Regions from separate parts of the Homo sapiens genome. Here all the other regions are linked to region 2. Evidence: promoter capture Hi-C in human tissues and cell types (Jung and others, 2019). All regions are on one chromosome and are shown on one strand. The core of a region is centred on a gene start or on the middle of the fragment in contact, and the rest is flanking DNA. Distances in the headings are between cores, read along the strand shown.

What was found. The method cuts DNA at HindIII sites, captures the fragments that hold promoters and counts their contacts. A contact is called where the count stands out against the background at its distance.
Region 1: the fragment with the promoter of CDC42EP1 here is called in contact with a fragment that was not itself captured in region 2 in 1 of the 25 tissues and cell types used here (bladder).
Region 3: a contact is called between the fragment with the promoter of JOSD1 here and a fragment that was not itself captured in region 2, in 1 of the 25 tissues and cell types used here (dorsolateral prefrontal cortex).

What each region holds. Positions count from the first base shown.
Region 1 is chr22:37,558,245-37,562,615 of GRCh38, forward strand. It overlaps CDC42EP1 (CDC42 effector protein 1), which reads left to right and starts at 2,236. Exons shown (of 3, transcript NM_152243.3): 1 at 2,236-2,344. RefSeq lists enhancers at 2,872-3,478, 3,479-4,086, 3,555-3,784, 4,087-4,371. The HindIII fragment of the contact is 19,033 bases long and covers 1-4,371 here.
Region 2 is chr22:38,171,161-38,175,693 of GRCh38, forward strand. The region is part of intron 1 of PLA2G6 (phospholipase A2 group VI); the gene reads right to left. Among named protein-coding and RNA genes, the nearest start is that of PLA2G6, 8.4 kb to the right of the region's middle. RefSeq lists an enhancer at 2,950-3,094 and a cis regulatory region at 3,022. The HindIII fragment of the contact is 3,596 bases long and covers 548-4,143 here.
Region 3 is chr22:38,698,197-38,702,401 of GRCh38, forward strand. JOSD1 (Josephin domain containing 1) reads right to left here and starts at 2,747. Exons shown (of 5, transcript NM_001360236.2): 1 at 2,604-2,747; 2 at 1,607-2,422. The coding sequence starts at 1,791. RefSeq lists a silencer at 2,254-3,213. The HindIII fragment of the contact is 3,457 bases long and covers 545-4,001 here.

The DNA.
Region 1 (4,371 bases), core at 986-3,485, 610 kb before region 2:
TATTTTTAGTAGAGACAGGATTTCACCATGTTGGCCAAGCTGGTCACGAACTCCTGACCTCAAGTGATCTGCTCGCCTCGGCCTCCCAAAGTGCTGGGATTACAAGTGTGAGCCACCGCGCCCGGCACTTTTTTATTTTTATTTTTTAAGATGGAGTCTCGCTCTGTTGACCAGGCTGGAGTGCCGTGGTGCGATCTCAGCTCACTGCAACCTCCGCTTCCCAGGTTCAAGCAATTCTCCCTGCCTCAGCCTCCCGAGTAGCTGGGATTACAGGCACCCGCCACCACGCCTGGCTAATTTTTGTATTTTTAGTTGAGACGGAGTTTTACCATATTGGTCAGGCTGGTCTCAAACTCCCAGCCTCAAGTAATCTGCCCACCTCAGCCTCCCAAAGTGCTGGGATTACAGGCGTGAGCAACCACGCCGGGCAACAGTCAGTCTTCTAAATGTACACCTGCCAGTGCTGCCTGCTGGCTCACTGTCCTGATGCTGTTCCAGTTCTCCATGGGACAAAATACTCCTGGGCCGGCCCCCAGGGAAAGAGTTCCTACTGCTGTGCCACTTGAGCAAATGCTAGAATGCTTTGTGCCTCTGTTTCCTCATTTGTCCAGCTGCAGAAATAGCTCCTTCCCTTGGTGGCCAGCATGGGGATTCAGGGAGCCAGTGGAAGAGGCCTAGCCCCTGGGTGAACAGTAAAGACCTTGTCTCCTCCACCTGCGGGTAAATACAGCTCCTCATCCCCGGCCACAACAGCGCTCAGCCAGTCTCCTTCAGCCGGGTTTGCCTCCGCTGCAGGGTCCTCCACTCCCAGCCTTTGCTGTGCTGTCCCTTGCCAGCTGTGCACTGTGCATTTCCACTGCCCTTCCCTCTGCCTACACGTCCTTTAAGACTTAACTCACAACCATGCAGTGGCTCACACCCATAATCCTAGCACTTGAGGAGGCCAAGGCAGGCGGATCACCTGAGGTAAGGAGTTCAAGACCAGCCTGGCCAACATGGTGAAGCCCCCTCTCTACTAAAAAATACAAAAATTAGCCGGGCGTGGGTGGGTGCCTGTAATCCCAGCTAGTCCGGAGGCTTAGGAGGGAGAATCGCTTGAACCCGGGAGGTGGAAGCTGCAGTGAGCTGAGATCATGCCATGGCACTCCAGCCTGAGCAACAGAGAGAGACTCCGTCTCAAAAAAAAAAAAAAAAAAAAAAAAAAAAAAAAAAAAAAAAAAAAGAGAGAGAGAGAGACTTAACTCAGGTATCATCTCCTCTAGGAAGATTTCCTGAGCCCCCAGGCCCTGCAGGAAGTATTAGGGACCTCTCTGTGCCCTGACAGCCCGAGGACTCTATAGTCAGATGGGAGTAGTCAAAGGAGGGCACAACAACGGGAGGCAGGGGCCAGAGATCTATCTCCCCTCCTTGAGGATGGCACAGGGTCCCGGGTATGGCTGATTCCCTGCCCTCCATGGAGGTGGGCGGGGTGGGGGGAGGGTCTGTAAAGTCTCTGAGATGCGACTTCATTTACCTGCCGAGCAAGCCTCCTAGGTGCTCTTGGAGCAGGAAACACTTCACACAACATCTGATGCTGCTATTATCTATCCCACTTTCAGATCAGGAAACTGAGGCAGAGAAAGGTAAGTAGTGACTGAGGCAGGACAGGAGCCCAGGCTGTCCGGCTCCAGGGTCCCGGTCTTGACGGCCACTCTACCCCACTCTACCAGTCGCCCCAGTATGGCTGTCTTCCTCCTGGGCACCGCGGGGCCTGTACCGGATGGAAGGGAATGAGAATGGGGAGCAAAGGAGTGGGCATGTCATGCCTGTAAACATCAAGGTTTAAAGGCCCAGGCATTCAAGGCCTCAGATCGAGCTTCCCGGTTCCCCGAACTCCCGCAGGGCGCGGCTGGAGGGCCCAGGAGGGAGGAGAGTTCATCAGGCCTGGACGCCCCAAGCAAGGCCACGAGGGGAACCGGTGGAAGAGGGGTTGGCGGCCGGGGACCGGAGTCGCCTCCCCGGGGCAGCCCGCACGTTCCCCGGCTGGCCTTGTCCGGGGTGGCGAGCAGAGGCCTGGCCTGGCCCCCCAGCCGCGTCCCTGCCAGCTCTCGGCGGCCGCGAGGACGGTGCCGGGGAGGGGGCCGGGGAGGGGGCCGGGCCCCGCCCGCGGGCGGGAGGAGACGGGCGGGAGGCGGGAGCGCCCACACCCCGCCCCCGCCCCCGGATCCAGCCCGCGGAGCCCGCGGCCAGGGCGGCGCAGACCGGCCCAGCGACTCTCCCGGGCTGCCAGCCGGGACGCGCGGCCGCCGCCGCTGCAGACGACGAGTCCGCCCTCGTCCCGCGCCCCCGGGGCTCGCGGAGCCAGGTAACAGCCCGGGCGCGCGGGTCCTCGGGGCGGAGGCCGTGGAGGCCGGCGGGTCCCGGCGCCCGCGGGGACTCTGCACCCTACTAGGCTCCCGGGGCCGGAACGGGGACGGGACCCGCCCGGGAGAGGCGCCCCCGGGTGCCCACAGGAAGGCCGGGCGCGGCCGCGGAGCCGCGCGAGGAAACTCCGAGCTTTCGGGCTTCGTGTCCCGTTCCAGGCTGGTGGAGGGGGCAGAGGATCGGACACGGCTGAGCGGCCAAAATGCGCGAGGAGGGGGCGAGCCGAGGGGCAGAGCGGGGGCTGTCTCCGCGCCTTCCTGCGCGGGGGAAGGAAGGGCCGGGGCGGGCAGCGGGCGACGCGGCGGAATGTCTCCCCTCCGCCGAGGCCCACGCGGAGAGCGGGAAGTGGGGGGTGGGGGGCCCGGGGAGATGGACAGGCACCCTGCCCCCCTCCCCGACCGCCGCATTCCAGGCTGGAGCCGCGGATGAGGTCATCCCGTCCGGTTCCCCTCCGGCCAAGACAGCCGGTCGTCCCCTTCCCCCGCGGAGCGACCCTCCGCGTCCTGAGCCCCGTCCCCCCAGGGAATGTTGGATGGCCGAAGTCTTTCCCGGACTTCCAATCCCGGCCGCCCTCCAGATTGTTCTGCCTTTGCCCCAGCAGTGCCAGACCCGCAACATTCGAAGCCCTTTTCCTAGACCGGGAAACTGAGGCTTAGAGAGTAGGGGGGACTGGCCGGGAGGCCGCAGCGGCACTAAACGTGGCGCGGGGACCCGAGACGCGGCCCGCAGCCGCTCCGTCTCGCTCGGTCCCGGGCTGGTTCGGCTCTAACTCGGGGCGGTGGGCACGAAGCGCGTCTCCTTTCCACTTTCCCCGTCGCTCCCTAATGGCCCACGGTGCCCCCCTTGGAATACGGAGGACCGGGTCCCCTAGCGCGACTGCGAACAACTAGCTACCCCGTTCTGGCCTCAGTTTCCCCGTCTCTCCACCTTGAAGCGTCTGGACTTTGAGGAGCAGGAGAAGTCAGCCGACCGGTTTAACCCCTTATTCCAGGGACCAGAGCAGGTTTGGGGGAGCTGCCGTAACCATGACAGGGACCCGCTGTCCAGCGGTGGGGGGGGGCGTCACCCAGCTGGATGCCCGCAGGAAGTGGGCTGTGTGCACCCGAGCAGTGGCCTCCAGGATGAGACGTGGGCCCCTGGCCAGCACTGCGGCCTGCGGGTGACCCCCAGGTGAATGCCAGGGTGCAGCCGCCCCCGCTCTCCTTCAGACCCGCCCTTGGCCTCCCCGCGACCACATGTGCCTCCACAGCGACCCCTGTTGGCCCGATCCCGGCTCCAAAACTTGTTCTTGCGTCATTCCCACCATTGAGTGAGCTCAGGCCATGTGCCCAGGCCCTGACTATCCTCTATAGGGTAAATATAAGGACTCCAAGGACACTGAGGCTGTGTGGTGACCTCCTTGCCCAGGTCACAGGCAGTGAATCTGCAGAGCTGGGTCTCCTGTCTTCCCAGGCCTGCACCTGCACCCCACACCGGGCTCAGCACTGGGCATCCAAGCCCTCCAAATCGTCTTCCCCATTCCCCATCGTCTTCACCCCCACCCTGGGGCATTTACCAGCAATGTTGGTCTGTGACTGAGGGTAAATGTCTCCTTTCTGAGCTTCGTTTTTTCCATCTGTGAAAGGGGTGTTCTGAACACTAACGGGCGGTGTTCCTGAGCAGGTGAGGGGAGGTGAGCCTGGCACCAGGACACTTGGAGCCCTGCTTACTCCAGTGCCAGGTGAGGCACACCTGATGGCCAGCAGTGCCCTGTGGTTGGCAGCAAGTGCCACGTGGCTGCCACCGGGGTCCCTGGAATGAGAGATGTTAGTGTAAAGGTGTCAGATTTGAACCCATGGCTGCCCTGCTCCAGTATCTGAGGGTTTCATTACATTTTCTACCCTTGCAACTCCCCTGGGAGGGGAACTGCCTGGTGTGCTGTTCCGTTTTCCACATGGGAAGACCGGGTCCCAATACCCTGCCCTCAGC
Region 2 (4,533 bases), core at 1,096-3,595:
AAACTCCGTCTCAAAAAAAAAAAAAAAAAGATCATAACAACTGAAGAAAAGTTCGCAGTGTCCCATTACAAGGCTCAGTGCCATCTCTCAATGATGTCTATCTGGAATGTTCTTCCTCTCCTTTTCTGTCTGAGAAAGCCCTGATCCTTCTTCAAATCCAAGCTTGGTTCTCGTGGTTCTCAGCCTCCTCCTTAAAAATGTTTTTGTTGTTGTTGTTTTGAAACAGGGTCTGGCTCTGTTGCCCAGGCTGGAGTACAGTGGCTCAATCATGGCTCACTGCAGCCTCTACCTCCTTCCACCTCAGCCTCCTGAGTAGCTAGGACTACAGGTGTGTATCACCAGGCCTAGGTAATTTCTTCCAAACAATTTTTATAGAGGCCAGGCATGGTGGCTCATGCCCGTAATCCCAGCACTCTGGGAGGCTGAGGAGGGCAGATCACTTGAGGTCAGGAATTTGAGACCAGCCTGACCAACATGGTGAAACTCCGTCTCTACTAAAAATATAAAAAAATTAGCTGGGCATGGTGGTGGGCACCTATAATCCCAGCTACTTGGGAGACTGAGGCAGGAGAATCACTTGAGCCCGGGAGGTGGAGGTTGCAGTGAGCCAAGATAGCACCACCGCACTCCAGCCTAGGTGACAGAGTGAAGACTCCGTCTCAGAAAAAAAAAAAAAAAAATTATAAAGACAGGGTCTTACCACGTTGCTCAGGCTGGTCTCGAACGCCCGGGTTCAAGCGATCTGCCTGCCTCAGCCTCTCAAAGTGCTGGGATTACAGGTGTGAGTCACCGTGTCTGGCCTAAAATGTTCTTGATACACCATCACCAGATGCCAGGTTCTCTCTCCTTGCTCTGGGCTCTCCCTCACTTTAAACACATCTGTACTATCACAGCCCAGCATGTTACAACTGCCCCTCCTGCCAGACGGTAAGCTTCGTCATCCTCCTACCAAACACTCCTGTGCATCTTGCTGGCACCATCCTGAAAGCTTTACGTACATTAATCATTCTGTCTGACAACCACTCTATGAACTGGTTACTATTATTATCCTCATTTTACATATGAGAACACCAAAGAACAGAGGGGTAAAGTCACGGGCCCAGGGTCACCCAGCTAGTGGGTGGAGCAGTGAAAGCTGGCACCCAGATGGGCTGGCCCAGAGTCTGAGTTTCTCAAAGGCAGCTGCTCGTCTTTTCATCTCCGTCCACAAGCTTGGCTCACAGAAAGTTTGTCAAAACAAAAATTTAACTGAGTAAATATTATGCATAGAAAAAACAAAGCCTGATAGAAAACAAACCAAGATAGACTGACAGAAAACATGCCATTGAGTAGATGAGGGTGCTGGGTTTATGGGCTTTTGTTTTTTCCTTTTCCCTATTTTCCAGATGCTATGTAAAGCGATTATAGTTTTCAAAGGAAGTAGCAGTATAGGCTGAGCCTCTGGGGGCTGCAGCCGGGAAGATGGGGACCTGTGGGACTCAGGCCTGGCCTGGAAGAGCGCAGAGAGGCTACCCCGAGGACGGGCCCACAGGGACGCGGAGGGGTGCGCCCAGGAAGGGCAGAGAGTCAAGAGCATCCAGCACCCATGAGCCTCAGATTGAGGGAGAAAGTCACCAGGGGTGCAGTGAAATCAAAGAAAGATTCCACACACCCCTTCGTCAATGGCCCAGCCTGTGTACCCCCCACCAGAGCCTGGGGCTAGGGGATGCCCCCCACACACCCACGACAGCATGGCCACAGAAACGACAGGCTTGGCTGGCATCCAGCCTTCAGGGTAGGCAGGAGGACGAGATGACGCAATGGAGGGAAGGTGTCTGGGACACAGGCCGACTGTGGGCACACAAACAGTGGCCATTGTTATCACTAGGTGGAAGAAAGGAAATGACAGCCACGGGGCCACATCCTGGAACACTCACGGCATTGCCAACCAGGAAGGCGGGCCAGCAGGGAGAAAGTGCTCACACGTGCTTCCTTCTGTCCCTGCCACCTTGGACCCTGGAGCCTAGGCTCTTCCCAGCACAGCTGCAAGAGGGGGATGGTGGATGAGGGCCCCCCGCATCATGCCTCACTTCATCTCTCCCCCTGGCTTCTCACAGCGTCCTACCCTTGACCTTCCCGTGGGGTAGACAATCACTTTTCCCCACTGATGACCGGCCCCTCCTCCTCCTTACCTGGGCTTCTCCCTGCACCCCCAGGATGCCCAGGTCACCTGACACAGACCGCACCTCGGCTGTGTCAAGCAGCTCTCTCAAACACCACAAGCAGAAAGACAAAGACCCAAGACCTTTGGTGGTGGGGGTTGACAGTGACAATTCTGCCTGTCCAAGCCAGGCAATTTCCAGGTACCAATTTTGGTGCCCCTGCTGAGGGAAGCCAGATATTTCTGGCCGTTTTCCTTATCTCTGCTCACCCATCCTCTGTCAAAACCAAGCTTGCCTGCTGGGTTCATTGAGGGAAGACTGACAGAGAGTGTGCTGGTGTGAGGGTCCCCTGGAGGAGCTGAAGGACGGGAGGAACAAGTATTATTATCCCATCTTCCCATCTCAGAGATCAAGAAACTGAGGCCCAGAGAGGCCCTGAATTGTACATGTTCAAAGGGCAAATTAAGGCCGGGCACAGTGGCTCGTGCCTGTAATTCCAGCATTTTGGGAGGCTGAGGCAGACGGATTGCTTGAGCCCAGGAATTTGAGACCAGCCTGGGGAACATGGCAAAACCCTGTCTCTACAAAATATAAAATAAAATTAGCTGGGCATGGTGGTGTGCGCCTGTGGTCCCAGCTACTCGGGAGGCTAAGGCAAGAGGATTGCTTGATCCTCTTGAGGTCGAGACTGCAGTGAGCCAAGATTGCACTACTGCACTCCAGCCTGGGAGACAGAGCAAGACCCTGCCTCAAAAACAAAACAAAACAAAGGGCAAATTAAAGTTGATGTCCACCAAAAAACAAAAACAAACGGGCTGGGCGCAGTGGCTCACGCCTGTAATCCCAGCACTTTGGGAGGTTAAGGCGGGCGGATCACGAAATCAGGAGATTGAGACCATCCTGGCTAACATGGTGAAACCCCGTCTCTACTAAAAATACAAAAAAAATTAGCTGGGCGTGGTGGCGGGTGCCTGTAGTCCCAGCTATTCGGGAGGCTGAGGCAGGAGAATGGCGTGAACCCGGGAGGCGGAGCTTGCAGTGAGCCGAGATCATGTCACTGCACTCCAGCCTGGGCGAGAGCGAGACTCTGTCTCAAAAAAAAAGAAAGAAAGAAAAACAAACGAAGAAACAAAAAACCTCGAGTGGGAACAGAGGGAGATTGGAGCCAATGGTAGCATCTCTGATGAGTTCCCTGGAAGTGACTACCTGGGTTCATAAAACAGTCAACAGAGAGACCCAAGACCAGTCCCTGTCTCGCCAAGTGCACGGTCCCCTGAGGGAAGGACCCCTAAAGGGGATGACTTTTTAGCTGAACTTTCCAGGAAGAACAGGAGTTTGCCAGCGGGGGAAATGGCGAGAGGCCTTCACAGCAGATGAAGCAGATCAGAACACGGAGGAAGGCAGAGATCAGGGGCTTGCTCAGCCCACCCATGAACGGTGAGCATTTTCACTGGGACTGGACGGCTCGAGAGGGGAAGGTGCTGAGAGGAGGGGCCGTGGTTAGTGCTGTGATCAACGTGAACACAGGTCACCTGGAGCCACTTGTCCAGGGCTGCTATGTCAGTCACGCCCCTCGCCATGCCCAGGGAAGCTCCTCTCATGACGAGGAGCCAAGCCCCGGAAGAAGTGCAGTAGAGGACAAGGGACCAAGAGGGTGGCTCAGAGCGGGTGGTGAGGGAGAACTCAGTCCCAAAAATCTGGTTCCTCCTCAGCTACGAATTCCCTGAAGGACCCTGGGCAGGTCTCAGGCACGGGAGGAGCGGTCCCTGCCCTCTGATTGCTGCTACCTGCCGCAGCTGCCAGGCCCAGGCAGTCCCCTCTCCTCCCCTTTGGAAGGTCTGTGTGAAAACTGCTTTTCTGTAGTGAAAGGGGCCTGCACTTGCGTCCTCCCTGGAATGCGCTCTCCAGTTCCTGCTGGAGCCCCTGCTCATCCTTCAAGGCCCAGCTGCCCCCTCTGAATGCTCAGAGCACCAGAGTGCCCTTCCAGCCTGCACGGTTCCCAACCCAGCCTGACACCCCTCCATGCCCACTGTACGATGCAAATCCAGCTGCAGGTCTCCCTGCTGACCCTGGCCAGTGGCGCCCCATGACCTCCCAGGGAAAGCCCAGACTCCAGCATCCATGAGAGCTGGCCCAACTCACCCCTCCAACTCATCCCTCACCTCTACTCCAGCCACGCCGCACCATCGATCTTCCCAGAACACGTCAAACTCGTGTCTCAGTGCACTTGGGGATACCACACATACGCTCCATCAGCGTAGCCCATCCTCCCCACTTTCTTAACCTGAATGTGTGCTCCACAAAGGACAAATGAACAAATCTCTTCTTATCCATGAAGATACAGCTCAGGTGCCATCTCCTCTGAAAATTCATACCCGCACCTCCGCCCTGC
Region 3 (4,205 bases), core at 1,497-3,996, 530 kb after region 2:
ATGACCTGATGATCTGAGACGAATTATTTTATCTCCCAGTGCCCCAGGTCCTGAAGAGTCAATTCTACTTGCTGCCAGATAATGGCCATGATGCAAATGATATATTAGCTCTGGTAAGGCATTACTCTGGTTACTACTGGCATTGGAAAATAATTACTCTCATTATAGTTTTGTCTGCATCTGGGGATTAACATTCTCCTAAGAGTAGGCCTTTGGCTCTTTCAGGGCAAATGGTCCATACCTGTGTTTTACAAATCACCCCAAATAGGTTGCTTCCAGCTGTAATTCTGGTCCCTATGTGGCAACAATTTCACTTCCAAGCTAAGAGAGTAAGAAAAAGGTCTTCTGGAATTGCTAATATGCACTGCTTGAAGAATGCTTGAGCTTCTCTGCAGCGAGGACTGCGCGGGCCTAACTACTTCTAGTCGGGGTCATCAGGCAAGATCATCACCTGAGTTGCTATGGACTGCAGCCATGCTGTTGTGTCCATTAAGACACCACAGAACTGACTCTCAAAACCTTTAATAAAGTAATTCTAGAAAATCAAAGCAAAGAGAAAAAAGCTGAACTTCTTTTTTTGTTTTTCCGAGACCCGTCACCCAGGCTGGAGTGCAGAGTGGTGCAATCTTGGCTCACTGCAACCTCCACTTCCCAAGTTTATGCGATTCTCCTGCCTCAGCCTCCCGACTAGCTGGGACTACAGGCGTGCACCACCACACCGGGCTAATTTTTGTATTTTTAGTAGACACGGGGTTCCACCATGTTGGACAGGCTGGTCTCAAACTCCTGAACTCAGGTGATCTGCCCTCCTCGGCCTCCCAAAGTGCTGGGATTACACCGTACTTGGCCAAAACCTGAACCTCTATTAACCTGTGGGGTGGCATTTGTTCTAAGTGGGTAAGAAAGGCCATCTAGAATAAAGGAGAAAGAAGAGATCTGGAGTCAACTTCAAATTATAGCTTTGCTATTTAGAAGCTATTTGGACATATTACCTGACCTTTCTGCCTATCAGCATAATACAGGCAGTGAAATGACTGTTGGGAGAGCTTCACAAAGCAATGTACGAACAGCACTACTGCCAGCACATGGCCTCACAGAAAAGCTGAGCATTGTTTATACATCTTGCTTGTGGTACCCACCACATTCCACCTTTAAAGACAGGTGACTGAACGTGTACGTATCTAGTCCCACTTCTAGACTGTAAACTCCTCGGCAGCAGAGCTTTACAGGCATTATAGCATAGTGGTCAACAGCATAGATATAAGAATTCAACCCCAGCTCCAAGTCTTGTTATCTTGGGCGAGGTACTGAACTAAATGTGTCTTCATCAGTAAAATGGAAATAACATCACATATTAACACGTATTCCACGGGACTGTTGAAGATCACTCAAGAAAACACAGCTGAGGCTATGAGTACTTTCCTAGCCCACCGTAAGTGCCTGATAAATGGTAGTGATTATCTTTTCATGTCTTGTGTCCCTTATACCTGCTAACGCAATCTAGCTAATACCTACAGCTTTGAAGGTTTATGAAGCTGAGACACTGCCCCACCCACAGAAATCCAGAAATATCAGTATCAAGATGCCAAGGAGAAGGGTCCCCTACCTCTGGAAAATCTCTTGCAGCGTATCCCGGGTGAAGGCATTGCTGTCCTGGAAGACGTTATTGAGGGCGTGGAGGGCACAAAGCTCCCTGCGCTGTTTCTCATGGTAGATTTGTGGGGGTGCTGCCTGGGGCAGCTCCAATGATTCAGATTTGGCCTTGTCTCCTTTCCATGGCACACAACTCATGTTTTTTGTTTTAGGTTCCAGAGATGGCTATAAACACCCCACTCTTCCCTCTAGAGGAAGAATGTAAGCTTCTCAGTCTTTTCCGGATTCCTGAGGTCCACCTTATTCTCTGGTGTCCATGATTTATGCTTTGTCACTGGGAGAAAAGATTGGAATCAAAAGGAAAAAAATAAAACCCACCTCTTCTCTCTTCTCAATAGAAAAATAACTTTTGGATTACTTTTATTTTGCTACCACTGTCAAAGTGCAGAATTTAAAAAAACACATAAAATGTAAGACCTTGTTTCCGTTTCCCCACCCTTCCCTCCCACCCCCCTCCAAAATCCCCACGATTTTCTTGCTGTTTCCCTCTGCAAATGCCAGGCCTCAAAGCAGGAGGACCGAACACAATCGGTCACATCGCTCCTTTTCTTCCATTTCTTTTGAACCACGACGCCAATGACTCGGGAGACAAGGCCTGGGTGACGGATAAATTTAGCGCACGAGTCGAGTAGCTAGCGCGGGCCGGCAGGCGTGGGACCGCGAGCCGCGCGGGGGCCTCGGGGGCAGCCCTCCATCCCCTCGGGTACGGTGGGGCCCGCAGGGCGCGGCTCCCTCGGAAGGCGCGGATTCTAGCCCTCTGGCCGCGGCCCTGCGGAGGAGGAGACAACTCCGGTCAGCGGCGAGCGGGCGCGGGAAGTGAGCGGCGGGGCCGGCCCCTGCCCGAGGGAAGGTTCCGCGCGGCGAAGGGCTGGCCCGCGAGGGGTGGGGCCGGACAGTCAGCCTCGCGCTCCCGGGCCCGCGCCCACCCGGCTCGCAGCCCCTACACAAACCTCCCCGCCCGTCACGTGAGCGCAGGCCCAGACGCCCTCCCGCCGCGCCCCCGGCCGCAGACCCCAGGGCCGCCGGGACTGCTCGCCGCTGGCGGTCCCCTCACCGCAGCCGGCCGCCACCTGGAGTGCGCGCCGCCAACTGGGCCGTGCGGGCGGGCGCGCGCACCTGAGCCCGACGTCAGCGGCCCCCGCCCGGCGCGTGCTCCGGAAACGCCCTCCCGCGCCGTCCTCACTCCTCCCAGCCGTGGCGTCACGCCTGACGTAAGTCTGACGTCATCGGCACCGGCCTGGGAGCCGCAGACGCCGGGCGTGTAGGGGCGCAGTTCAACGGTTGGGGTGTTGCAAAGGCCGTGGGTGTGGGGCTGCGGGCTGCGCACCTCGGCGGCGGCCGGCAGGGTTGGGGTCCAGCCGCTCCGCTCGGCGCGGCCCCTGGCGGGGCGGCCTGAGGGAGTCCTACCTGGACGCCAGCCTGCCCTTCTCCCGGGCGTGGGCGTTGTTTCGGGGCGGCAGCCAGGCCAGCGGCTGCAGTCCGCGGCTTTCAGCACCCCTCCCTTCTCTGTGCCGGGCTTTTCGGCCGAACGTTCTCGCTCCTTCTGCGTTGACTGTTTTATGTGTGGTTAACGCGCGGCTCACCAGGGGGGATTTTGAAGCACCTGATTCGGTCGGGCGCAAATTGCCTTGGTTAGTGGGCCCGACCGTGCCGCACTGTCCAGGGAGCGTCAAGGGTAGGTGTCTCGCTGGGAGTCACATTTCAAGTGGAAAGGAGAATCCTGTTGCAGTTCCTTGGTGTCGCATTTCGGTTCACTACACACAAGCCACTGCCTTCTTGCCTGGGGGCTCCCCGCTCTTCTCACGGTGGCTTTCCTCTCTGCAGAGACCTCTGCGCGAGGTATACCTAAGCGCATTGTGTGCGTCTTCGGGAAAAGGCGAAAACTACTCGCAGTCCCACGTGGATTTCATTTTTTCCCCTTTACCTACTCTTAGGGTGCGTGGTAGGCATCATTATCCACCTTAGCTGCCCTTCTTTTGGGTTTTCTGTAAAACTGGAAAAACGAGAAGAAACTGTTGCACTTCAAATTTAGTTGTTTTGTTTTGTTTTTTGGAGACGGAGTTTCGCTCTTGTTGCCCAGACTGGAGTGCAATGGCATGATCTCCGCTCACCGCAACGTCCGCCTCCCGGGTTCAAGCAATTCTCCTGCCTCAGCCTCCCGAGTAGCTGGGATTGCAGGCATGCGCCACCACGCCCGGCTAATTTTGTGTGTTTAGTAGAGGGGTTTCTTCATGTTGGTCAGGCTGGTCTCGAACTCCCGACCTCAGGTGATCCACCCGCCTTGGCCTCCCAAGGTGTTGGGATTACAGAAGTGAGCCACCGTGCCCGGCCTTTTTTTTTTTTTTTTTTTTTAAGATGGAGTTTAACTTTTGTCGCCCAGGCTGAATTGCAACGGGGCGATCTCGGCTTACTGCAACCTTCACCTCCTGGACTCAAGCGATTCTCATGTCTCAGCCTCCCGCGTAGCTGGGATTACAGGCTCCTGCCACTACGCACGGCTAATTTTTGTATTTTTAGTAGAGACGGGGTTTCACCATGTTGGCCAGGCTGGT